2 separate regions of the Homo sapiens genome follow, and region 2 is linked to region 1. The links are contacts of gene promoters, found by promoter capture Hi-C in human tissues and cell types (Jung and others, 2019). All regions are on one chromosome and are shown on one strand. The core of a region is centred on a gene start or on the middle of the fragment in contact, and the rest is flanking DNA. Distances in the headings are between cores, read along the strand shown.

Region 1 (6,065 bases), core at 2,212-4,711:
ATTTAAGCACATTTATAGTGCACAAAGATTCTTCCTTACTCTTTAATAAAATGGAAGAAAATCATTTGTGGAAACTAAAATTTCTTTAGTAAGATTTCAGAATACTAGGAAAATACTATTAGTTTCACTGTACACTTTGAAATTAAATCAAAAAGAAATTTGAGGCAAAACCTCAAAACTGCTATAACCTCTGTACTTTACTAGAACTGATTTCAAGGCAAAATGTTTGCCAAGGACTTTCTGAGAGATGAATAAATGACAATGTTCTGAAAAACAGAAGAATCTCTTGAGTTTGATAGTACGATTCATAGCTTAAGGCTTTTAAAAAAATAATAGTGAAATAAAATTAGAAAAATGCTATACCTTAACAGACTGCAAGATGCTAGTCCCATGCTCTGTTTCAATTTTGCAATTATCACCCTCAATACTTTGAACTTCTACACAGCCAGACCCTGATGACTTGATATCTAAACCTAGAAGTAAAAAAAGAAAAAAGCAAGTTAGTACTGCAGTTTATAAGCTCCAAAGCATTTTAACCTAGAAACCCAACTCCTCAGTTATGTCCATAATATTGCTGAATCCTGGAAAGTGCATACTGTAAAGGTAAGGGGTCTTCTACCACGGCAACGGGACCAAATACAATAGCCTTTCTGCCCGTTTTTAGAAACAGAGCAGTTATTTCTACTGGCCTAAATCACCTAAAGAGAACTAACATAGATGGGAAGTAAAGGAGACTACGATTCTGTTAAGTACTCCTGTGAAAGACTGTAGAAGCCTCTTCCCCAGTATATATGATCATGACTTAGGTTTTCAAATCCTATGTCTAACCTTTCATACTTAAAAAATGAAAATATTACCATGCAACTATATCACAAGGTATTTGAAGTAATTTTTTAAAAATGGGAACAACTTTGAAAAACCTAATATATACTATTAAAACTACAAGATTAGGCCATGAGCCGTGGCTCATGCCTGTAATACCAGCACTTTGGGAGGCCGAGGAAGGAGGATTGCTTGAAGCCCAGGAGTTCAAGACCAGCCTGGACAATGTGGCAAAACTCCCTTTCTACAAAAAAACAAAAACATTAGCCAGGCATGGTAGCATGCACCTGTAGTCCCAGCTACTCAGGAGGCGGAGGCGAGAAGATTGCTTAAAACCGTGAAGTCAAGACTGCAGTGGGCCATGATTGTGCACCTGTACTCCAGCCTGCATGGCAGAGTGAGTGAGATGCAGTCTCAAAAAAAACCAAAACAAACAAACAAAAAACCCCACAAGATTGTGGACAAATGGCAGTGGTACATGAAGCAAGTTTGGAAAATAAGGAATTACAAATGCCATCCTTGGCTGTCTATTTAAGATGTAACTGCAGGCATCGCTGTATACAAATTTTAAAAATTAAAAACGCTGATATTTAATTTGGAATTAACATAAATATTGATGATTTCTCTTAAAGTAGGCAAGACCCGCCCCCCCGACTTGATTCCTGAAACCACAAATAGTACCAAATCCTATATATTCTATGTTTTTTCCTGTATACATATCAATGATCAAGTTTAATTTATAAACTAGGCATAGTAAGAGATGAACAACAATAATAATAAATACAGCAATTATAACAATATACTGTAATAAAAGTTATATTACTGTGATCTGTCAAAATATCTTAATATTTTCCTACAACAGTTGAGGCAGGTAACAAACTCAGACAGCCAAACGGTGGATAAGGGAGGACTACGGCATCTACTATTTGGGCAACTGTAAGCATTATAAAAGATGATCTTAAAAATGCTAAATGCTATTATTATTACCATCATCATCATCATCAATATCTTCCTTCAGTCCCAGGAAGAATGACAGTCTGGGGAGCCCTTCCTAGAAAAGTGTGTGTACACAGTGGCTTGCCATTTAGGAAAACCTAAGAAAGGTATCTTGCAGGCATTATTATTGAAGCTTCCTAGGCAGGCTTACCATGTGTTTTTCTTCAAAGCTTGCTACTCATGGAAAACTTAGGCCAAAAAGAATGGAAACATAACAGTAAGAAGCTGGGCGCCCGTCTAAAACCAAATACTCAAACCAGGTGGTACCTGGAACATCCTATTGACAGGGCTGTTTTGGGACACACCCCCAGGCTGTGAGCAAGGGGAAATGTAGATGGACTGCCATACCATTGAATGAATTGTCAAGAAACTTCAACCTTGAAAAATAAGCCAGTTTGCTAATGACAACGGGATAAAGAAGAACACAAGCGGCTCCAGAAATAGAATTTGACCTGGATTATACCAAATCGTGTTTCCATTCGATGTATAAAATTTCTATAATTGGGAACCTAATTTTTTAAATACTACTCGGATACTCAAGAATAGAACAGAGGAAAAGTTGCATTTCCGAAGGGGCCAACTGTAAATTAGGTTTAGAAAGCCAGGACCAATTAAAAGTGCACGTCGACCAAATTTATTAAGTTCACTGTGCGTTCCCTGGGACCCAAACCCGTTTTCACTTCACTTCACTTGCCAAACTTCAGGGGCGCGTTCACCTCCACGGACGCCTGGGGGTGGATAGTATCAGACACAATGGCCATCTCCTCCAGATCCTCGTCGTACTTCACCTGCAGGCCGTCCAGGCCCCGCACGCCGCCCTCCACGCCGCACACCGCGACCAGCACGCGGTCGCCATCCGGGTAGGTGAGGGGGTCCAGGGGCCTCACGGCCAGGTGGCACGGGAGCCGCGCCCGCAGCCGACCGAACGGGCTCACCTGCAGTGTCCACTCCTTCAGAGTTCGGCGCGCCGGGCCAGGCGGAGGGACCTCAGTCTCCGATCCGGGCCAGCGCTCGCCCCTACCTGAGCTGTACGGCCTGGCTTGGCAAGCCCAGCAAGACCAGCGCCCAGCGCCAGCCCACAGTCGGACCTGACGGAGACAGAGACGGAAGCAGCCAAGCTCCCAACCTGAACAGGGGGCAAGCATGGCGCGCCTCTCTCGCCAGTCCTCAGAACACTTCAGCCACAGGGAGGGTCACTTGCCACGGCCAATCGACTTGGCCACTGTGCCGCCTCAAGTCAAATAGGAGACGTAAGTCAGGGTTTGCTGAAACAAGAGCGAGCCGGTTGGCTTGACTAGGCGATGTAAACATCAGCTGCGTAATCCCCAGGGGCAAGTTGGGATTTGAAAGCTCTGAACTCTGACCTGGACCCCTTGCCTAAGTCCACCCCCTTTCGCTAAGGCCGACGGGATACGTAGTTCTAAAGCGGTGGAAAGTCGCAGAGCTCCGCCTCTTAGAAACCACATATCCCAGGAGGCAATGCGCAGGGGAGCACGGGTAAGAGGGCAGGTGTTAGAATCGCTGGAAAGGCGGGCGCCCTTTGTTTCAAGACCATTGGCTATTGGAGGGGCGGTACATGGGAGGCCACTGGCCAATGGGAAGCACGGAAGGGGGCAACGAGGGTAAAGCTGCATGGTCACCTTGGATACCAAGGACGCGACTTCTTGTTTGGAGAGGGTGGAGCTTTGGAGTGAGACCCAGGAGGCCAAATCCCAAAGAGAAAAATAGGAGCCTAAATAAGGATCAGGACCAAGGGAAGGGGTAAGAAACTGCGCTTTTTAAGTTGACAACTAGGTGCAAACTAGGAGTAACCTATGTGGATGTCAAGATCCAAGCTTCACTAACCTAGTGCGGGCATCTCCAGGGCATGGAGAATGCCTTGGTAAGAGAGTAAAGAGCAAGATTGGTGCTTTTTGAGGGAATTGCCTCTTTGGAAGTGTATTCCCTCCTATATTCCAAATATAGGAATAGAGTACTTGCTCCGTCCTGACCCTAAGTGACCTTACTTTGGGTTTTAATTTGCTCACTTTAAAAATGTAGATGATAATACCTTCCTTGCCTTGCCTCAAAGGGTTTTTGTGAGGATCAAGTAAGAAAATGGATGGGACCGTGGTGCACAGTCTACCAAATTACCGTGTAAAGTACTGTATTTTTATTTCAACGTACTTAACATTGATTCTGAGTTACCAAGAAAATTATGAGAGATCAGAACTTGTTTTGAGAATAGCATTGATCTCTTTGACTACAAATGATCATCAGTTTTAGAGTGAAAAAAAAAAAGACACAAAAAAGAGAGTCACCATGGTGCGGTGGAAAGAGCAGGGACAAGGGTCAGATTATTTTCCTGGCTCTGCCACTGCTTCATCTGTGTCACCTAGACCTGTTTCTTTAGTTTTAAAATGAAGAAAGATGGTTCTAAATGACCCTATAAGGTGTGTGTGTGTGTGTGTGTGTGTGTGTGTGTGTGTGTGTGTGTGTGTGTGTGTTTACCTTTTATAATTCTATGGGCAGTAAAATAATGGGAACAGAAAGATTTATTTTCTTCTTTTTTTCTTCTTTCCTGCCTGGTTTCTCTCTCCCCCTCTGTGCCCCTACTTCCTCCTAAAATGTATTCCCTAAATTATTTAGCCAAGACACCTGCAAACACTAACATTTCATAAAATGCAAGTGCCTTAAAAAATTGAAGCCCTTACCCAAGTACAATGACCAGAATTCTTGGGGCTATCGTGATAGATAGACTGGGCTAAAGTTCTCATGGGTACAAGTCTCAGGTTCTCTGCTAGCCACTACCTTTTTAAAATTTTTAAAAATTCAGTGTTCTCTTAAGTTATCATTGCCTCTTTTCTGTCCTTCTAGTCCTTGCTCCCTCCTTATTCTTCTTTCGGTGAAGACTCACTCATTATAGGTGCTAGCTCAGGTTCAGCAAGGGCCCACTGCAATAGTTCTTTTCTTGTCTTTGTGTTTCATTGGTTATAATTATTCAGAATAATCTTCAAACTATTTTTTATGAAAATTGACAGGTGTAACTTTGAAAAGAAATTTGAAAAAGGCACTGGTTTAAGGAAGTTGAGAATGTACTCAAATTTTCTGTAGAAACACTAGACATTTTTAGATTAAATATTAATTCTTAATAGTTAATTCTGTGTCTATGGTAATTTTTCCGTTTCTGAGACAAACTAAGTTAATGGAATTGGCAACTGAACTATAATTTTCTATGTTGCATAATCATTATTTTACTTTTTCAAACAAAAACCAAATAGAATTGACTGAAAATTTACTTTGCTGATCATACAAGGTTGAAAATGGAGAAAATTATTAATATTAAGATTGGTATAAAATAGTTAAAGTTATAGACACTTAAAAACAGTATAATGAGTATCAAATCTGTCCACATATCAACAATGATTAATAAAAGTTGTATCTTCCATCCATATGACATTATAATTGTCAAACCATGTTCACATGCGTCATCTCACTGTATCCTCACTAATTAGGAGGGAAATTATTCTCCTCACACTATAGATGGGGAAACAGATTCAGAAACATTAAGATTAAGCAATTAGAAGGTCTGGCCCTTTTATCACTCTACCAAAACGTCCATTTTCCTGACACCTTTGAAGAAAAAATGAAATTATTCACCTCATAAGTAGAAAATTATATACAACTTTTTTCTCCTTATTTAGAGTTTGTTTCTAAGATATTTTCACATCTTAGTTTAAAAAAGCTATTTCTGTGGTCATGAACATATACTTCTGGTAGGAGTGTTAAGTTAGCACAAAATTTTTAGAGTTCAATTCAGCAATAAGAATGAAAAGCTTTTTCTATGACTCAGAAATTGTGCTTTTGGGGATGTAAGCATAAAATTAGGGATGCTCAAGGAATTATGTTTTATAGGGTTACTTGTAAGAGAAAATAATTGCATCAATTTAAATGCTCCCTGGCCAGGTGCAGTGGCTCATGCCTGTAATTTCAGCACTTTGGGAGGCTGAGACAGGTGGATCACCTGAGGTCAGGAGTTCAGGACCAGCCTGGCCAACATGGTGAAACTCCATCTCTACTAAAAATTAAAAAAATTAGCTTGGCGTAGTGATGGACACCTGTAATCCCAGCTACTCAGGAGGCTGAGACAGGAGAATCACTTAAACACAGGAGGTAGAGGTTGCAGTGAGCCGAGATCACACCACTGCACTCCAGCCTGGGCGGCAAGAGTGAAACTCTGTCTCAATAAAAAAATGTTAAATGCTCCC
Region 2 (6,065 bases), core at 554-3,053, 35 kb after region 1:
CTCCACCATCATGTTGCAATTAACAGATTCCTCATGGATTACACATGCGTATAATCTAAGAGGTAACTGTTTAACATGTCTGAACATTAACTTTAAAGGCCAGATATGCACTTGAAGCTTTCTTTCAGAGTTTTGCTATTTGTGCGTTTGTGTGGTTTTAATTGAAGGTAGTTCAAACCCCATTGTTACTTTAACACTTCAATTATGAGGCAATTTTTATCTGTACATATTTACTGCAAGAGTTTTCATTTTTCCTTTAAGATTCTTTTTGTTTTTCCTGTAGGACTCTTTTCTTTTCAGGATTCTTTTTTCGAAAGTCCTCTTTATCATTCCTTTTAGGAAAAAAAAAAATGTTGTGATTTGATTTGTTGGGTCTTTGAATAACATTTTTACTTTCTTTTTTAAAAAAAGCATCTCCATAAATATATATACCTACTATGTACCCACAAAAATAAAAATAAATAAAATAAAATATGTATCTATATCTTAAAAAATGTTTCAAGTCTAACATTGTCTTTGTATGGTAAAAATGAGCATTGTATAATTGTACTTAGAATATAAAATCTAGGCAGGAATAACTGCAATCATTTTATCTGTGGCTTTTAGGACTATTAAGTTAGTTCCATCTGATTTTGTTGTTGTTGTTGTCCATTAAATGGATCTGAGGTATGCCTCATGTCAGATTGGCTGCCCAATATTCTGAGCCTGTCATATAGTGGACCGGAGGCCCCATAGGATGAGCCTTAAATTTTATAGACTTTTTATGTTATCTCCAAAAGATAATATACATATAATTACCAGAGATACACTGACAGAATTGAAGGCACTTGTCATACAACTTTATACCACAATTTTTGTAACCCTGTTTTGAAGTTTCTATGTTTTTTAACATGTTAGGAAACTAAAACAAAACAAAACAAAAAAATGGAAGTGTCCCAGAGTTCTCCCTTCCTCCAAGGGGTCAGCTCTGAGTTCCTGTAGAAACATGTTGTAATTAACCTTGTAGAGCAATGGGCTGCTGGGGGAAGGAGCACCCAATCTTATCTTCAGGGCAGTCAGAAGAGCCAAGTCACAAAAAAGAACACTCAGGTTCTGTGTGGGACTAGGAGAGAAATAAATCATGTTCAACTTTACATTACACCCTGCTGTTTCTAAAATGAGCAAAACCTGTGCTTGTTCAATGATGAGTAATATTGAAAGACCGTGTGGTTTTCTGCTACAGCTTTCTTGAAGCATTGCCATTTTATTGTCCAAAAGTCACATTGTTTGTGTATCCTGCCCCATTCTCTGGAGCATGCAGTATTTGGTTTTTACACATGCTCCTTGTAACTATCTAGAAATGTTTCCTTAATAATTCAAAATCAAAACAAAATGATGATCACCTATGTTTCATTTGAAGAAGAGGAATTACTGATGTGTATTACAAAACAAGGGGTACCCTGCAATGTTTATTGCTTAATTATTCTTTGTGAAGCTTCCTATTTTGGCTTATTCATGTCTTCTGCTTTCTTAAAATCCCCTTAAGGCCACATCCTCTTCTCTTCAGACTCCTACAGCATCTCATGGTACTGCCTTGCCTCCTTCCAGTGGGGGCTGCTTCTCTGCAGAACTTGCTATGCCAGTGGTGCTCCCTGTAAGTGTGCAGTGTGTGGCCACCCTGTTTCTGTGGTCCAAGTTATCATAGCACCAATTTCAGTTAAAACGTTTAGAATTTTATGTCTGTGATTTTTTGATTAACTTGTCTTGCTGCCAGTCTCTGCGTCCCCTAAGGTCAGGAACCTTGTCTGGTCTTGCTCACCATGGTACCTATCTCCTACCCATAGCACAGTGGCTGGGTCCCAGCCTCCAGATTGTTTCCTTGCCTCTAAATTCACACATTTTCCAAGCCATTCTTCTCAGCAATATTGTCAGCAATATCTTTACAACTCTGCCATGGCTCCCAATGCCTAGAGTTCAAGTCCCAAATTCCAGGCTACCAGTTACTTTTTCAGCCCTATCTACTCTCCTAAGAACGTTGCTTTTTATTTGGGCTTATTTTACCTCAGCTTATGTGACAGAGAACTAGTTCTTTCCCTGCCTTACTTTCTCTTCAGATTATACATTGTTTGCATATTTGTAAATTCTTTATAGGAAAACTCAATAAATATTTATTTAATTGATTTAGGCATTCTGGAGATATAAGTCTCTAGAATTACCATACCTGATGGCTATGTAGTTCTTCCTATGCCAGGAATTTAAGGTGTTATATTAAACATTCTCTGTTCATATCACCGTAGCCTGAGAATATACTTTATTCTATTATTTTATTTACAGCTGTCAATCATATTGCCTGCAATATGGAACTATTAATACAATGGGCTTTGCAATCCTATATATTAACTGTCTTTGGATATTTATTGTTTTTTTTTGTTTTTTGTTTTGAGACAGAGTTTCACTCTGTTGCCCAGGCTGGAGTGCAGTGGCGCTATCTCGGCTCACTGCAACCTCTGCCTTCCAGGTTCAAACGATTCTCCTGCCTCAGCCTCCTGAGTAGCTGGGATTACAGGCGCCCACCACCATGCCCGGCTAATTTTTGTATTTTTAGTAGAGACGGGGTTTCACCATGTTGGCCAGGCTGGTCTCTAACTTCTGACCTCGTGATCCGCCCACCTCCACACCACAAAGTACTGGGATTACAGGCGTAAACCACTGCGCCCAGCCAGATATTTGTTTTATCCATTAAACTTTGTTATCTGGTTAAGTCCTTTCCTGCCTATTTAATTAGATTAATTAGTGTTTTTTTGTTTTAATTCACACAGACTTTTTTATATTTGCCTCTGTTGGGTTTTCTTTCACTACTCATTCTCCCTGTCTTTCCTTTTTTAAAAAAACACGTTATTGAGGTATGGTTGATGTATAAAATACTGTACATATTTAATGTATACATCTCAATGAGTTTGGGGATAAGTATACATCCATGAAACCACCAACCATCATCAATCTCATAAACATATCTATCACCATCCAAAGTTTTATCCACCCCCTGTATTATTATTTTTGTTGCTGCTTTATCATAAGATCTAATCTCTTAGTAATTTTAAGTATACAATAGGGTATTGTTAGCTACAGGCACTATGCTGTCTAGTAGATCTTCAAAACTTATTTATCTTGCATAGCTGAAATTTTGTACTCTTTAACTATTACTCCCCAGTTTCTCCTACCCCAAGTCCCTGGCAACCACCATCCCACTCTGCTTCTATGAGTTTGACTGCTTTAAGTTCCATATATAAGTGAGATCATATAGTATTTGTATTTCTCTGTCTGCCTAAATATTTCATTTTCTATCCATGATGTTGCAAATGGCAGAATTTCCTTTCCTGTGGCTGTAAAATGTTCCATTGTATACATATATCGCAATTTCTTTGTCCATTCATATGTCCATGGAAATTTATGTTGTTTCCATATCTTGGCTTTTGTAAATAGTGATGAAATGAACGTGGGAGTGCCAATATCGCTTCGAGATCCTGATTTCGATTCATTTGGATATATAACCAGAAGAATTGCTGGATAATAAGGAAGGTTTATTTTTTACTTTTTGAGGAAACTTCATACTGTTTTCTATAATGGTTTACCAACTTACCTTCCCACTAACAGTGTACAAGGGTTCCTTTTTCTTCACATTCTTATCAACAATTACTATCTTTTGTTGCCATTGCTTTTGGTGTTTTAGACATGAAGTCCTTGCCCATGCCTATGTCCTGAATGGTAATGCCTAGGTTTTCTTCTAGGGTTTTTATGGTCTTAGGTCTAACGTTTAAGTCTTTAATCCATCTTGAATTAATTTTTGTATAAGGTGTAAGGAAGGGATCCAGTTTCAGCTTTCTACATATGGCTAGCCAGTTTTCACAGCACCATTTTTTAAATAGGGAATCCTTTCCCCATTGCTTGTTTTTCTCAGGTTTGTCAAAGATCAGATAGTTGTAGATATGCGACGCTATTTCTGAGGGCTCTATTCTGTTCCATTGATCTATATCTCTGTTTTGGTACAAGTACCATGCTGTTTTGGTTACTGTAGCCTTGTAGTATAGTTTGAAGTCAGGTAGCGTGATGCCTCCAGCTTTGTTCTTTGGGCTTAGGATTGACTTGGCGATGTGGGCTCTTTTTTGGTTCCATATGAACTTTAAAGTAGTTTTTTCCAATTCTGTGAAGAAAGTAATTGGTAGCTTGATGGGGATGGCATTGAATCTATAAATTACCTTGGGCAGTATGGCCATTTTCATGATATTGATTCTTTCTACCCATGAGCATGGAATGTTCTTCCATTTGTTTGTATCCTCTTTTATTTCCTTGAGCAGTGGTTTGTAGTTCTCCTTGAAGAGGTCCTTCACGTCCCTTGTAAGTTGGATTCCTAGGTATTTTATTCTCTTTGAAGCAATTGTGAATGGGAGTTCACTCATGATTTGGCTCTCTGTTTGTCTATTATTGGTGTATAGGAATGCTTGTGATTTTTGCACATTGATTTTGTATCCTGAGACTTTGCTGAAGTTGCTTATCAGTTTAAGGAGATTTTGGGCTGAGACCATGGGGTTTTCTAGATATACAATCATGTCATCTGCAAACAGGGACAATTTGACTTCCTCTTTTCCTAATTGAATACCCTTTATTTCCTTCTCCTGCCTAATTGCCAATGGGATCTAATTAAACTAAAGAGCTTCTGCACAGCAAAAGAAACTACCATCAGAGTGAACAGGAAACCTACAAAATGGGAGAAAATTTTTGCAACCTACTCATCTGACAAAGGGCTAATATCCAGAATCTACAATGAACTCAAACAAATTTACAAGAAAAAAACAAACAACCCCATCAAAAAGTGGGCGAAGGACATGAACAGACACTTCACAAAAGAAGACATTTATGCAGCCAAAAAACACATGAAAAAATGCTCTCCATCACTGGCTATCAGAGAAGTGCAAATCAAAACCACAATGAGATACCATCTCACACCAGTTAGAATGGCAATCATTAAAAAGTCAGGAAACAACAGGTGCTGGAGAGGATGTGTAGAAATAGGAACACTTTTACACTGTTGGTGGGACTGTAAACTAGTTCAACCATTGTGGAAGTCAGTGTGGTGATTCCTCAAGGATCTAGAACTAGAAATACCATTTGACCCAGCCATCCCATTACTGGGTATATACCCAAAGGACTATAAATCATGCTGCTATAAAGACACACGCACACGTATGTTTATTGTGGCATTATTCACAATAACAAAGACTTGGAACCAACCCAAATGTCCAACAATGATAGACTGGATTAAGAAAATGTGGCACATATACACCATGGAATACTATGCAGCCATAAAAAATGGTGAGTTCATGTCCTTTGTGGGGACATGGATGAAATTGGAAATCATCATTCTCAGTAAACTATCACAAGAACAAAAAACCAAACACCGCATATTCTCACTCATAGGTTGGAATTGAACAATGAGAACACATGGACCCAGGAAGGGGAACGTCACACTCTGGGGACTGTTGTGGGGTGGGGGGAGGGGGGAGGGATAGCTTTAGGAGATATACCTAATGCTAAATGACGAGTTAATGGGTGCAGCACACCAGCATGGCACATGTATACACATGTAAGTAACCTGCACATTGTGCACATGTACCCTAAAACTTAAAGTATAATAATAATAAAAGAAAAAAAAATTACTATCTTTTGTTTTTTCAATCATAGCCATCCTAACAGGTGTGAGGCGACATCTTATTGTGGTTTTGATTTGCATTTCCCCAGTGGTTGGTAATGTTGATGACCTTTTTATGTACTTGTTGGCCATTTGTATGTTTTCTTCGGAAAAATGTCTATTCAGCTCCATTACCCATTTTTTAATGGGATTATTTGAGTTGTTGCTATTCAGTTGTATAAGTTCCTTGTATGTTTTGGATGTTAACCCCTTGTCACATATATAGTTTGCAAATATTTCCTCCTATTCCATAGGTTGCCTTTTCATTTTGTTGATTGTTTCTTTTGCTGTGCAGAAGTTTTTTAGTTGGATGTCATCTCACTTTATTTTTCCTTTTGTT

Evidence for each region. Contacts are between HindIII fragments. The study calls those that stand out against the background at their distance.
Region 2: a fragment that was not itself captured here is called in contact with the fragment with the promoter of CCDC146 in region 1 in 4 of the 25 tissues and cell types used here (adrenal gland, aorta, hippocampus and 1 more).

The regions. Positions count from the first base shown.
Region 1 is chr7:77,119,154-77,125,218 of GRCh38, forward strand. It overlaps CCDC146 (coiled-coil domain containing 146), which reads left to right and starts at 3,462. Exons shown (of 19, transcript NM_020879.3): 1 at 3,462-3,579. It also overlaps the pseudogene FAM185BP. RefSeq lists enhancers at 2,251-2,752, 2,753-3,252 and a silencer at 3,148-3,247. The HindIII fragment of the contact is 9,649 bases long and covers 1-4,643 here.
Region 2 is chr7:77,156,118-77,162,182 of GRCh38, forward strand. The region is part of intron 1 of CCDC146 (coiled-coil domain containing 146); the gene reads left to right. All of the region lies in intron 1 of LOC124901678 (a long non-coding RNA gene), which reads right to left. Among named protein-coding and RNA genes, the nearest start is that of CCDC146, 37 kb to the left of the region's middle. The HindIII fragment of the contact is 7,736 bases long and covers 1-5,671 here.